Linked DNA regions of Homo sapiens: regions 1, 2 and 3 are each linked to region 4. Evidence: promoter capture Hi-C in 16 types of primary human blood cells and fetal thymus (Javierre and others, 2016). All regions are on one chromosome and are shown on one strand. Each heading gives the region's core, a stretch centred on a gene start or on the middle of the fragment in contact. The rest is flanking DNA. Distances are from core to core; before and after follow the strand shown.

Evidence for each region. Contacts are between HindIII fragments. The CHiCAGO score rates a contact against its expected background, and 5 or more counts as called.
Region 1: a contact is called between a fragment that was not itself captured here and the fragment with the promoter of STK32B in region 4, in 3 of 17 cell types (M0 macrophages, M2 macrophages and M1 macrophages). The highest score is 5.9, in M0 macrophages.
Region 2: a fragment that was not itself captured here is called in contact with the fragment with the promoter of STK32B in region 4 in 1 of 17 cell types (megakaryocytes); the score reaches 6.0 in megakaryocytes.
Region 3: a contact is called between a fragment that was not itself captured here and the fragment with the promoter of STK32B in region 4, in 1 of 17 cell types (endothelial precursors). The highest score is 7.1, in endothelial precursors.

What each region holds. Positions count from the first base shown.
Region 1 is chr4:5,463,571-5,466,819 of GRCh38, forward strand. It overlaps STK32B (serine/threonine kinase 32B), which reads left to right. Exons shown (of 12, transcript NM_018401.3): 10 at 3,133-3,249. Among named protein-coding and RNA genes, the nearest start is that of LINC01587, 59 kb to the right of the region's middle. The HindIII fragment of the contact is 1,290 bases long and covers 750-2,039 here.
Region 2 is chr4:5,392,170-5,395,406 of GRCh38, forward strand. All of the region lies in intron 4 of STK32B (serine/threonine kinase 32B), which reads left to right. Among named protein-coding and RNA genes, the nearest start is that of LINC01587, 130 kb to the right of the region's middle. The HindIII fragment of the contact is 6,269 bases long and covers 1-3,237 here.
Region 3 is chr4:5,370,961-5,374,511 of GRCh38, forward strand. The region is part of intron 4 of STK32B (serine/threonine kinase 32B); the gene reads left to right. Among named protein-coding and RNA genes, the nearest start is that of LINC01587, 150 kb to the right of the region's middle. The HindIII fragment of the contact is 634 bases long and covers 1,466-2,099 here.
Region 4 is chr4:5,049,641-5,053,234 of GRCh38, forward strand. STK32B (serine/threonine kinase 32B) reads left to right here and starts at 1,840. Exons shown (of 12, transcript NM_018401.3): 1 at 1,840-2,275. The coding sequence starts at 2,224. RefSeq lists an enhancer at 2,542-3,080. The HindIII fragment of the contact is 3,285 bases long and covers 1-3,052 here.

The DNA of each region.
Region 1 (3,249 bases), core at 145-2,644, 410 kb after region 4:
CTCATCCTACACAAGCACATGCATTCACATATATACTCACCCACACACACCTTCACACACATGCACACTCCCATACAAACACACACACACACAAGCAAGCCCCCTACCACATGCCCACCTACAGGGCAGTGAGCCTCAGCCCCACCCACAGGTCTGTAGCCTCCCCTCTGGCTGTGCTGTCTCCTAGCTGGAACCTTGCACAGGCCGCTTTCTCTTCCGGGGATCCCTTCCTCTCCTTGTCCACAAGGCAGTCTCCTACCCCTCCTTCAAGACAGCATAAAGCAAGGACTGGCCCAGTTGCCAGTCTCAGCAGAAGCCTTCTGTATTAGGCCATTCTTGCATTGCTATAAAGGAATAACTGAGGTTGGGTAATTTATAAAGAAGAGAGGCTTAACTGGCTTACAGTCCTGCGGGCTGTACAGGAAGCATGGCACCTGCATCAGCTTTGCTTCTGGGGAGGCATCAGGGAGCTTCCAGTCAGGGCGGAAGGTGAAGCAAGAGCAGGTGTGTCACGTGGCAGGAGCAGGAACAGCAGTGGGGGTGGGGGGTGCCACACGCTCTTAAACTACCAGATGTCTCACCAGAGCTCACTCACTATTGTGAGGACAGCACCTAGCCATGAGGGATCCGTCCCCATGAACCAAACACCTCCCACCAGGCCCCACCTCCCAAACTGGGAATTACATCTCAACATGAGATTTGCAGGGGACAGGCAAGTTATGTCACCTTCTGAAGGAAAGACAAGCCCAAGCTTGGCCTCCTCTGGGACATTCCCAGCCAGCGCCACCACCTCCCTGCACAGAGCAGGCCTCAGCCTCTCCTGCAACCCTCTGCACGAGTGCCTAGGGATACATCAGTGGTGAGAACACTCTGTCGCAGTGCGCCTGCCATCCTGCTGGGAGCTTCGGAGGGTGAGGGCCGCGAAGTGTTGGCTGACCTCTCTCTGCCTGAGCCAGACCCCAGAACAATGGGTGACAATAGAAGGCACTAGAAGGCCTAAGTGTGTGCTTGTCACGTGAATGAACGAATGATGATGGCCAACAGGTCTGAGCGTGTTCTGTGTACCTGCCATTGTTCTGATAACTTTGTGTGACTTATCTTGTGTCAGCTTCACACCAGTCCTGGGCAGTGGATCCTGTTAATGGCATTCTCAGCAAGGTTAGGCAACTTGCCCAAGATTTCTCAGTGAGAAATTGAGAGTTTGAATTCAGATGGTCTAGATCCAGAACCTGCATTTTTATGAATGAATGAATGAGTGGCAGGCAAAACAAGGCAGAGCCTGCATATTTATGAACGAATGAATGAATGAATGAGTGGCAGGTAAAACAGGTCTGGAGAGACCTGGGCCTGAGATTCAACTTGCTCCTTAGGGGAGGGCAACTTCTGGAGGACAGATGTGTGAAATCAGGGAAGGTGATCATAGTTGAGTTCCAGGAGTTGGTGATGATGGACAAAGCCCAGTGCCAGGCAGGGGAAGGGAGAGGCCATTGGTACCGCGAACCCAAGGAGGGTCCACAGCAGGTCACAACAGAAAGGATGAGGCCCAGCCTCTAGGACTGAGAAAGCAAGGGGCAAAGGACATAGGACTCCACTCCATTAGCCCACGAATGACACAGTGACAACAACTCGGTAACATTTATTGGGCAACTCCTGTGTGGCAGGGGCTGGGCTAGGAGCTTTTCTTGCATTTTCTCATGTCAGCCTCACAGACTTGCACTAGTGCCCTCATCTTACAATATGGAAACTGAGGCCCATAGAGGTTTAGGGAGTTCCTGGGAGTTAGGGAAGCCAGGACTTTCCCCAGTTCTGTCTGCAAAGTCCCTGTCTTCCTCCTGCCCCCAGGTCATGGCAAAGGCACTGGCTGGCATCAAGCAGATTAGGGAGCATGGCCAAGACAAGTTCAGCTTTAGGTAGCAAGACCCTTTCTTGTAAATTGGGTTCAAGGCCAGGAATCCTAGGGAGGTGAGGGGACAGCAGAGAAGCAGAGGGAATGGCCAGTTGTGGAACGGCCACCATGGTCAGGCATCCACCGTTCTGGAAGCTTGGCAAACTCTTATCATCTGATCCCTCAACAAACTCTGAGCCTGCCATATTTCACAATGATGAGGAAACTGAGGCAGAGAGAGGTTATGAATCTCCCTCAGCATCACGCAGGTAAAAGGAGAGGACACAGGGCCCAGTGGCAAGGCTGGCTGACCTCAAGGCTGTGCCTCGCCTCTCTCCTTCTTGGCCAGGTCACAGCAGGCCCAGGTCCTAACAGGCCCAGGGACCACCACTGTAGGGAGGACTTGCTTCATGCCTGGCCCTACTTGGAGTACTTTATAGATATTATATTATTAATTCCCTATATGGGAATTATTGTTACCCAAACTTTACAGCTAATGAACTGAGTCCCAAGGAAGTCATGAAACTTACAAGATCAGGAAGTAGCAGAACTGGGATTTTTCCCCTGTGCGCGCCAAAGCTGCTGTTATAGCCACCGGGCTGCATTGCCTTTGGGGACCGGCACCTGGGGCCATCATCTGGGCTACAGCTGAGGAATGAAAGTGGCTACCAGGAATCTGGGTCCAAGGCCCAGAAGTCAGGGAGACCTAAATTCCTCCTGACCACAGCGGGAGGAGCCCCTGGCCAGGAGCAGGGCCAGGCCGGAGGGTCAGCTGACTCTAGCTGCCAGGGGGCGGGAGGCGGGGGTACGGAGCAGGGAACCAGGGCAGGAAGTTGGGCAGATTTTGAGCTGAAATTGTATTCTTAAGTTATTTAGAATGATTTTTATAAAAAAGATAGTAATGACAGGACAATGTGCATAGGATAAAATAATAAGTGAAAAAATCAGATTCGAAAACTGAACTCAGCCTAGTATGAAAAACAGGCATAGAAAGGGGCCTAAGGAAATACCTGGATGTTAACAGGAGTGCGGTTGCCCCAGGGGGACTATGTGTAAATATATGATGTGTACAGTGAGAACGTGTTGCTTTTTATCATCAGAAAACAGAAACAAAGGTAACCCGTGTATCCAACAAGAGTAAGTTCATCATTACTTGTTGAATGAATGAATGGTTGAATTAATGAAAAGAAAATTCAGTGATGGGTGGAACGCAGACAGACCATGTTTTCTTTTCTACTCCCCTTTAGAAAGGGAGGTTGAACTGCGATCCCACATTTGAGCTTGAAGAGATGATTCTAGAATCCAAGCCACTTCACAAAAAGAAGAAGCGATTGGCAAAGAACAGATCCAGGGATGGCACAAAG
Region 2 (3,237 bases), core at 155-2,654, 340 kb after region 4:
CACGCCTGTAATCCCAACACTTTGGGAGGCCGAGGCGGGTGGATCACTTGAGGTCAGGAGTTTGAGACCAGCATGGTGATACGCCGTCTCTACTAAAAATACAAAATTTAGTCAGGTGTGGTGGTGCACGCCTGTAATCCCAGCTACTTGGGAAGCTGAGGCATGAGAATCACTGGAATTCAGGAGGCGGAGGTTGTAATGAGCCAAGATCATGCCATTGCAGTCCAGCCTGGGTGACAAAGCGAGACTCCATCTCAAAAAATAATAATTAATTAATTTAAAAATCAAATCAGATCTTTATTATAAGCATGTTCCTCAGATTATTACTGCCTACTTTAGAATTCTGGGAACCCCAATTTATTCCTAATTTATTTTTTTTCATTTCCCCACCCACAGAGAGAGAACATTGATCTAGAGACCAACATGAGAGTAGGTCTTACCTCTACCGGTGTTTGACCTTTGACAAATCACAAGGAGGAACCAGACATACCACTGACCCTCTGTAAATAGTTCTCTCTTTATCAGTAAAATAGGAGTAGCAATACCTATCTCTAAGAGTTGTGTCAAGATAATGACATATGGAGTGCCTCCCCAGCACCTGGTAACAAATAGCCACACTGCACATGGCTAAATCCACATAACACACTTCAGATTGTCCCTGACACACAACCAACACTCAATAAAGTTTAGCTGTTAATACTGTCAGGACTGCTATTAACACTGAAGCACCGTGTTGGGGGCTGCTGTTTGTACTTGGTCCCCATGTCCACAGGAAGCAGGAGACAGAAGGGAGAAAGAAGTAATGTTTAATGAGTAGAGATGATGTGTTGTCATTTCTTAATTGTCACTCAGTTTCTAGGAGAATGATCCATGCCAATACAATGACAGATTCTAAGCATCCTATCCCACATCAGCTTGCTGATGGATGGGTGCCAAGTCCCATTCAAGTTGGCTAAGGCATAGGTCAACAGCCAAGGTGAAGCCCTCCCATTCCTCCCCAACCCCCAGTAAATGCCTTTGGTCATCCTTCCCTAGTGCCTGTTCTGTTGGCTCAACCTCCTACTGAAATGTCTTTGCCCCACTCTGTTATTATTCATAATCGCACCTTTCCATGTGCCTGGCCCTGTGCTGGTTGCTGTCATAAGAACCATCTCATCCAATCCTCACTGTAGCCATTAGAGAGGGCATTATTATCCAACTTATAAGTGAGGAAGCTAATGTTCATTGTCTTAGTCCATTCTCATGTTGTTATAAAGAAATACTGGAGACTGTTGTTTATAAAGAAAAGAGGTTTCATTGACTCATGGTTCTGAAGGCAGTACAGGAAGCATGGCAGCATCTGCTTGGATTCTTGGGAGGCCTCAGGAAACTTACGATGGTGGCAAAAGGCAAAGTGGAAGCAGGCATGTCTTACATGGCGGGAGCAGGAGCAAGAGAGACAGTGGGGGAGGTGCTACACACTTTTAAACAACCACAACTCACTATCATGACAATAGCACCAAGAGGATGGTGCTAAACCATTCAGGAGAAACCACCCCCATGATCCAATCACCTCCTACCAGGCCCCTCCTCCAACACTGGGGATTACAATTCGACATGAGATTTGGGCGGGAACACAGATCCAAACCCTATCACTCACCCAGGGCAGCGTTCTCCTGTCTGCATGGCCAGCAAGAGGCAGACTCAGGACTGGATCTCAAGTCTCTCTTCTCTGTCCTTTGCTACCTCCCTCTCCCTCTTGCATGCATATGGATAGCATATTCCCTTCACTAGTTGTAAAATAGCCGCAGATTTTTACTTCGCTTAGTCTAGCTTTCCCCTCCAGGTTTTTGTATTTCTCTTTACTGCTGCATAAGATTGCCAGCATAGAATATTGAGAAGCCCCCTGCCAAAAGACACATGCAGAAACATCCTGGTGGCCCTGCTTTGCAGTCTGTGCATGGGTACCTCTGGATCAGAGCCATTTCTATGCTGTTTTTTAAAATATCCCAGCTGACATTTTATGCTTTGTTTTATTTGAGGGCTGGGGAATAATTCAAGAGCAGCACCGGGTTTTATAGCCCTGCATGCGTACTTTCCATCAAAGTGTCATTTTGCCCAACTCTGAAATTATGGGTCTGTCCTCAGGAAACATCGTCACCGCCTTCCCATCCATGCAATGCTCCTGATGCCCTTTCTGAACGTTCAAACCCGTTTTCAACAGGATGACGCGCTGGAGCTGAGATACGATCAATGTGAAAAATAGAGCTGGAGGAAACGGTCCTGAAACTGGCTAAACTAAAGGCTCTGCTAAGATGCTTTACCCATAAAATGCTATTCTTATTAAATCCCAAGTGATTCAGATTCTCCATCTCCTCCACGCTGCTTTGCAGGCATCTGCCCAGCAGTCTCCTGTGAAAGAGACCTAATTTGCTAAAGGCTCAAGAATCTGCCAGTCTGCCTCTGAGTTCTCCCTAGCTCCTTTTGAAAGAGCAATGACAGTCCCATCACTGTGACTTATTTCAGCACTTCTTCCACACTGCACTGGGACTGTGTGAAGTGCTGAACAAATGTCATCTCATTGTACACTCAGCAACAGTGAGATGGCTGTTGCTGTTCCCATTTCCCAAATGAGGAAAACAAGGCTGAGAGTAAGTGGCCCAAGATCATATAGCTAGAGAATTAGTTTTCTATTGTTGTGAAACTAATTACCACTAACTTAACAACTTAAAATAACTCACATTTATTTTCCCTCCATTTCCGTGGCCCAGGAGTCCAGGTGGGCTTAACTGGATCATCTGCATAGGATCTCACAAAACTACAATCCACATGCCCACCGGGCTGCACTCCTTTCTGGAACATGGGGTGGGGTTCTCTCCCAGGCTCTTGTGGTTGTTGGCAGATTTCAGCTCTTATGGCTGCAGGACTGGGGTCCCGTTTTCTTGCTACATATAGGCCAGCGGTCACTCTTCCTCCCAGGGACAGCTACATTCCCCACCGTGTGGCTGGCTCCACACAGCAGCTCATGTCTTGAGCTCTCACTCCAGTCTGCCAAGACAGAGTCATATAATGTAACATAATCCCGGGACTGCCATCCCACCAAGTTTGCCCTGTAACATAACTGAATTAAGGGGGTGACACCCATCACCTTTGTCAGCTTCCATGGCTAGGACCACGTCACAGGTGAGATCATTTATTCTCTCATCCTCCTACTTCCTCATCTGCAAAATGAGAACTTGCTCACTACATGATGCACAG
Region 3 (3,551 bases), core at 533-3,032, 320 kb after region 4:
AGACACTATCTAAATATATATATATGTGTGTGTGTGTATATATATATATATGTATATATATGTGTATATATATGTATATATATGTGTGTGTGTGTGTATATATTCTAACACTTGTTAAAATGGTAGGGAAGACTTTATTCAGGACTATTGCAGTGAGTGTAAAGTTTATCACAATGTTGCAGAGAAATGGAATTTAGCTCAGAATCACAGCAAAGACAGCTGGGATTACAGCCAATGAGCAGAAGGAGGGATCAGTAGATGGAAAATGACTAAGAGGAGACATCAAGGTAGGGAGCTTCTTGATAAACTGACTTAACAGGATTCCTGCTAAAGACAGGCCAAGGGCTTATACATCAAAGGTAGGGGAGGAGGAATTGGATCAGATATGGAGGGTGATCCAATATCAAAGGTGAGGGTTTCTTGCTAAAGTGACTTAGCAGGAATCTTGCTAAAACTGGATTTAGCAAACCAAAGATGGGTCTCGAGGATGAGGCCTAGGAGAAAAGCAGGTTCAGGGGAGCCTGTCTAAAGTTTGGTTAAGGAGAGAGTCTTTGTCATTCCTGAGCCTGATTCTTGTCTTATTTCCCTCGCGCGGTTGTTGTAAAGACAACACCAGGCCCAGCCGGCTGAAGGGGAGGTGGGAGGCTGGAATCCAGCCCTGGCTGTGCTCTGCGTGCCAAGCAAACATTTGCCAAAGGGGCCAGATCATAAATATTTCAGGCTTGCATACCACAGGGTCTTTGTCAAAATTACTCAACCCTGCCACTGCAACAAGAAAGCAGCCGTAATAAACAGTGCATCTGTGAACAGCATTGACTGAGTTCCAATGAAACTGTATTTCCAAAATCAAGACTTGAGCCCCAGGACAGAGTTTGCTGACCTCTCTCTCTGGAGGGAGTCTTTTCCCAATTCAGACAAAAGTACTGTGTAAGCTCATTTCCCAGGTGGTGGCAATACCCCATGGGGCTGAAAGCACCTCCATGCAGAACACACACAGGTGACTGCAGAGATGTCCTTCTGGGCACAAGCCACTTCTCTCCAGCCCTGGAAACAGGCCAGGATGTGGGCTGCATTGGTCACACTCATGCCTGCAGGCAGGCGAGCAGATACAGCAGATGGCACAGAAGGGACAAACACTATAACCTTAGCCAACAGCTGAGCAACCCCTTGGAGGAGAATGCATACCTGCAGTCAGAAGGGCTTACATGTGAGAAAGTAAAGTCAAAGGATTGGGGACCGTGGCAAGCAGCAACAGAACAGTAAATGTGGAAACAGAGAGTCAGGTGCAGATTCTGATGAATGTCTGACCCATGAGTGAAGGAGGAGCAGCACCTTTTGAATCATGCTGTAGCTCTGGGTACTTCCCTGGGTCCTGCCATCTCTGTCCAGCCGGGCTGTAGGTGGACTTGGTTAATTTACCGAAAATGCCATGATGGTGCTGTCATTCTTTTTGCAGGAGCCCTGAAGCTTCAGGTAGCCCAGGACTCCCGACCTCTCACTCCCTTAGCACACATTCACATTCGAGACACGGCCATTACTATTCAATATTACCATCCTATTAAGGAAAGTGTCAGTAATCTAATATTTCATCATACACTAGACCAAAAATTTCAGAATGTTTAAAAAGGAGAAGATGACAACTCTGTTCCCATCTTTTCTGGGTCAGTGGACTATTTAATAAAATTTCAGCTCTACCTGTATCATTACAGTAATAACTGCATCTACACACTTCGAGCTCGTGGCCTCAGCAGGAGAAAGTTGGGGGGGGGGGCGGTTATTTCAGACTAATAGGTCCAGCTCTTCCTTTCTGCCACGCATCAGTATTTCTTTCTTGAATTCAGATTGATTTTTGCAAGGGATTTTATGCTATGGAGCATGAAAGCCTAGTTTTCTGCCATGAGCCCAATAAAGTTTATGATTGGGTTCAGCATGGTTGAGCCTCTTCAGGACATAAGACCCATGACCCAAATGAGGAATCCTCATTTCATTCATTTGAAGTCAATAAAGATTGAATATTGAATATATGTCAAGTATTTCATTCACAGCAGTTGGGAGTCGTGATTGGAATTGCTGTGGGGTCAGCCTATAAAGCCAGAAAAAGCTTTGTGGAGGGTGGGGAGGGGAGAAAGCTTTGAAACTGTGATTTGGCCTCAAGTGGGACTCAAACAGAAAACAGAGTAAGGAAAGGATGCTCTGGTTTCTAGGCACTCATGCATATAGCTCGCCCAGCTATATTAGGATTCTCCAGAGAAACAGAACCAATAGGATATGTGTGTAGGAAGGAAGGTTTACCATGAGGAATTGGCTCAGATGACTGTGGAGACTGGCAAGTCCCAAGATCTGCAGTGGGAGCCAGCAGGTTCAACACCCATGTGATCCAATGGTGTAGTTTCTGCCTGAAAGCTGGCAGATTCAAGACCCAAGAGAAACCCCCATGTTTCAGTTTGAGTCCGAAGGTAGTAAAAAGCCAATATCTCAGTTTTAAGGTAGTCAGGCAGAAAAAACTCCCTTTTTCTCAGGGGAAGATCAGACCTTTTGTTCTAGCCAGGCCTTCAACTGATCGGACAAGGCCCACCCCCTCTTAAGGGAGGCAACCTGCTTTACCCAGTCCACCAATTTAATTATGAATCTCATCCAAACACCTGGGAATCACTGGGAGCAGACACCTGCATAGCAGCCCACACACCTTTGTGTCCCCCTTATCTCCCATCTGCAGGGCCCCTAGGAAATATCTCAGGAATCCGCCTCTCTCCCCATCCCACCGATTTTGTCCCAGATCTTGACTGATGCAGTCTTCTCTGCCATTCTCACTCCACACAGCAAAGTGCTGTCTCTGCAATCTGAGTATGTGGGTCCCCCATGATCATGCTTCCAAGATGGTTTCAACCTTTGTGATTTCTGCTCTATCTACACACCAACAAATACTACCTACTGTAATTGAATTGTGTTCCCCCAAAAGTAATGTCCACCTGAGACCTCAAAAATGCAACCTTAATTGAAAATAGGATCTTTGCCGGTAAGAATAAGGATGAGGTCATACTGGATTACAGTGAGCCCTAAATCCAATGACTGATGTCTTTATAAGAGACAGAAGAGGAAATGCAGAGGGGAGAAGGCCATGTGAAATGGAAGCAGGGAAGTGAGTGATGCAGCCACAAGCCAAGGAATGCCAGGAACCACCAGAAACTGAAAGAGGCAAGAAGAGTTCTCCCTTAGAACTTCAGGGTAACACCTTGACTTTGAAATTCTGGCCTTTGTATTTTGAAGCCACTCAGTCATGGTCATTTGTTACAGAAGCCCTAGGAAACTAATTCTCTATCTTCATGATTTTTGCTTTATCTGGAAATCATCTGTACTACTATTTGAATAACATTCTATAATAGACAAAATGCTTTTTGCTAAGATAAGTGTGTTTCAAAAAGACGCTTCACATCAGTCCCTTAAAGAGGAAAGAGTTTGTCATAAATATAAGGACTAATAATAGAATGGATTGATGTCTTAGCCCATTCAGGCTGCTGTGACACAATACCTTAGACTGGTTCATTGATAAA
Region 4 (3,594 bases), core at 590-3,089:
ACTTCTTTTGTGATTCTTCAGTTGCTTCAGGCCATCTGGATGTATATGTGCAGGTCACAGGGGTTATGATGGCTTAGCTTGGGCTCAGAGGCCTGGCAATCACACCCAGCTAAGTTTTGTTTTTTTAGTACAGATGGGGTTTCTCCATATTGGCCAGGCTAGTCTCAAACTCTTGACTTCAGGTGATCCACCCGCCTCAGCCTCCCAAAGTGCTGGGATTACAGGTGTGAGCCCCCACGCCCGGCCTAGCACAATATCAATATATTCCTCATAACAATGTTAGAAAGGGAAAGTTCTCTTATTAGCACCTTCTGGACTCAGATGAAGAAACTGAGTCCAGAACAGGTTAAGTAATTTATCCAAGTTAACTGGCTAATGAGGGGCAAAGCAGAATGAAACCTGGGTAGAATGAGCCCAGAGCCCATGCCTGTCCACATTCCGCCCTATGCTTCTTGAGCTAGGGGCCAGCTCTGTGTTCAGGGCATTGCCTGCTGCACACTGGCTACTCAGTGTATGCTTGTTGGTGGAATGAAAGGCAAGAAATATTTATTCATCATTTATTATATGCCGGGCACTGTTGCCTGCTTTTATAAATATTACCTGATATAATTCTCACAGACAACCCAAGGAGTTAATATCAATCAGCCCACTTTGCAGATAAGAACTCCAAAGTGGGACACATTGCCAGTAAATGGTAGAGCCAGCTCTGGGTCATGGTGGGTGGGCCTGCCTCAGACCTTCTCAGTTCTTTCCCACTGCCTTTAAGAGATTTTTTGTTTTGTTTTGTTTTGTTTTGTTTCTGTATGAGTCTCCCCGGCTTCCCTCACCCTTCTCCCAAGAAAAAGAAAGAAGGGGAGAGAACTGGAGAGAGAGACCAGGTAGGGGACGGGGACTGGGGGACGAGATAGGATGGAGAGAGTCACAAAGAACCCCTGCTTTCTATCAAAGCACGGACAGTGGTTCCAGGCGCCCAGCAGATGGCAGGATGTAGCCAAAGATTCCCTGCAGTCCCGGAGAGCTGGGCCCGCAGGACTGCAAGGCAGGGGGACCTGCCTGTCCCTCAGGGAGCGTCCTGGGAACCCGCGCTCGCCCCACACGTCTTGGGGCGCATCTGCCGCACCCCTTACTTAGGCACCCGCAACTGTGGCGCGTATCTCCCGATCCAGGCTCCCGCCGCAGGAGCCCAGGGACCCTCATGCTAGCCTCGCCCCTAAATCGGACGCCGATGCCGCCCAATTTTGGGGGAATCCCGAGACTCATGCCCAGCCATTCCCAGGGAGAATGGTTTGGGGCAAACTATGGCTGTCTGGGGCCTCAGTTTCCCCATGTACAATGAAGGGGTCAGATTAGTATCTAATCTTAAGGGGTCAGAAAGTAAACAGATACTTTCATTCATTAAACACTGAGAAAAACCTTAAGAGGAACAGCGTCGGTTGGAGAGCCAGCAGACACTCCACTGCCCATCCCAATATGAATGGGCAAATACAGGCTAGCGGGGAGTCCTGGGACTCCCTTCGCAGCCGGGGCCGACTAACCACAGACCTAAGAGCCCCTCTACCTCTAGACCTCCGTCTACTGCGCTCTAAAATATGAACGATGCTTTCTTACTGCTGGGTTGTCGGAGGCGGATGTGGGATGGTGCTAACAAAGCGCGTAGCCGAGGCCTGGCCATAGTGGGTGCTGACAAACCGCTTACTGCCTGCAGGGACCGAGCTCCCGGCCGAGGGAGGAGGGCCGAGCAGGGATTCAGATTCTTCCGGGCCGATCCCTTTCTCAGCTCCTTCCGCCCTGCCGCCGCCCACTGCGTGCTGCCTTCGTCCGTCCCCTCCTCCCCCGCTCCTTCCCCTCCTTCCCCTGCTCCCGCGCCGCCTCGCGTCTCCCGCCCGCTGTAGCCGGCGAGGAGCGCCGCACGTTGGCCCCGGCGCGAGGAGCTCCCGGGTTCCCGGGCGGGCACTGGAGTAAGGAGCTGCGAGCGCAGCCCGAGGCGGGGCACGGCGGAAGGCGCGGCGAGAGCGGGGTCCCTGCGAGCGCAGTCGGAAGGGCGTCCAGGAGAAGGGGGACGCCGTCCCCGCCCCTGCACGGTGCTCGGCCCCCTCGGGCTCCGCGCGCGGCTACAACCCGGACTGGGCGCGCCCCCGGCATCCCGCATCTCTGCGCGCGTCCCACATCCCGCATCCGGCATCCCAGCGGCCGGGCATGTAGCAGCGGCAGCAACGGCGGAATATGGGCGGGAACCACTCCCACAAGCCCCCCGTGTTTGACGAGAATGAGGAAGGTAAGAGAGCGAGAGGTGCGAATTCCCGCTTCGCGGGGCATCCCCTTCCTCCACCACCCTCGGCCGAGCCCTGCGGGGCACCGCATGCTGCCCGGCGCGGGGACCCAGGCATGGCCACTTCGCCCAGCGAATGCAGTGTGTGCCCGACCCGTGCCAGGCGCGGCGCTTCTGCTGAGGCAACTCCTAGGTACCCAGTGCCGTTTAGTAGTCGGGACGGTGCCTAGCGCGGGACTGGGGAGGCGGCTTCAGAGAGTTGAACCCGAAACCTGCACTTGGGGGTGTGGAAGGGAGGAGTTGACTTCGGAGGCCAGTCGGGATGGTTCTAGGCTCGGGCTCCCCAGGAAACCGAGGTTTCCTTGAGAGCCTGAGGCTGACGGAGGTGGCCTGGAAGGGCGGGTTGCACCGTGTGTCTGTGTGTGTGTGCGCGTGCCCACGACGCATTTGGTCTCGTGCAAGGGCCTGTTGGATGCAGCTCTCCTCAATCACCCAGGACAGAGGGAAACTTTTCTTTGCTAAACTCTGTGGTTCCTAGGAGGGCGTCCTGTTCTGGGCAGCCTCCCCCTGGCGCAGAAGTGGTGTAGGCTGTCCAACCGCATCTCAACTTCCTGGCTGGATCCTTGCGGTTCAGGTCGATAGAGCTCCCTATTTGGACTAGCAGAACCCTCTTTCCAGTGCAGCGTGTCCCTGGAAAACTTACTTCACCTCTCTGAAACATTAGTCCCTTCATCAATGAAATGTGAGTTATGATACCACTAGCTACTTTATAGGGTTGTTTGAAGCTTAACCACTAGTAATCCACGTGAAAAGTGCCTTATAAATGCAAGCAGTACCGAGCTGTGCCGTTTTTTATGTTAAGAGCCCTCTGCCTCTCAAAGCTGGTTTCCTACTGTGCTGACTCGCCAGTCTCCACTGTGCCCCAGGTAAGAGCTGAGACATACTGAGCACTTACTATGTTCCAGCCATGCTAGCACATAGTGTTCACTCCATCCTTTTCATGCCCCTTGAGGTGGCTACCTTAGAAAGGGGTCTGTCCTGGTTACTGCTGGTAAGAAGTAGAGCTGGGCTTGAGGCAGGACAGTCTGCTTTGAAAGCTGTGCCTGTCATCATTACCCAGGGCACTGGCTGTGTGCGTACATCATGGATGGCTTCTAGAACTCCCAAGGCTGTGAGTGCTACTCAGATGCCTGCCTGGACAGCCCTTCTCAAAAAGATAGATGAACACAGTCAAGGTTAAGTGAGCACCTGCTGTGTCAGGCCCACGAGAGCCTTCCTTAAAGGAGTTCCTAGTCTAATGGCCCTGAATGACCGTCCATGGTGAT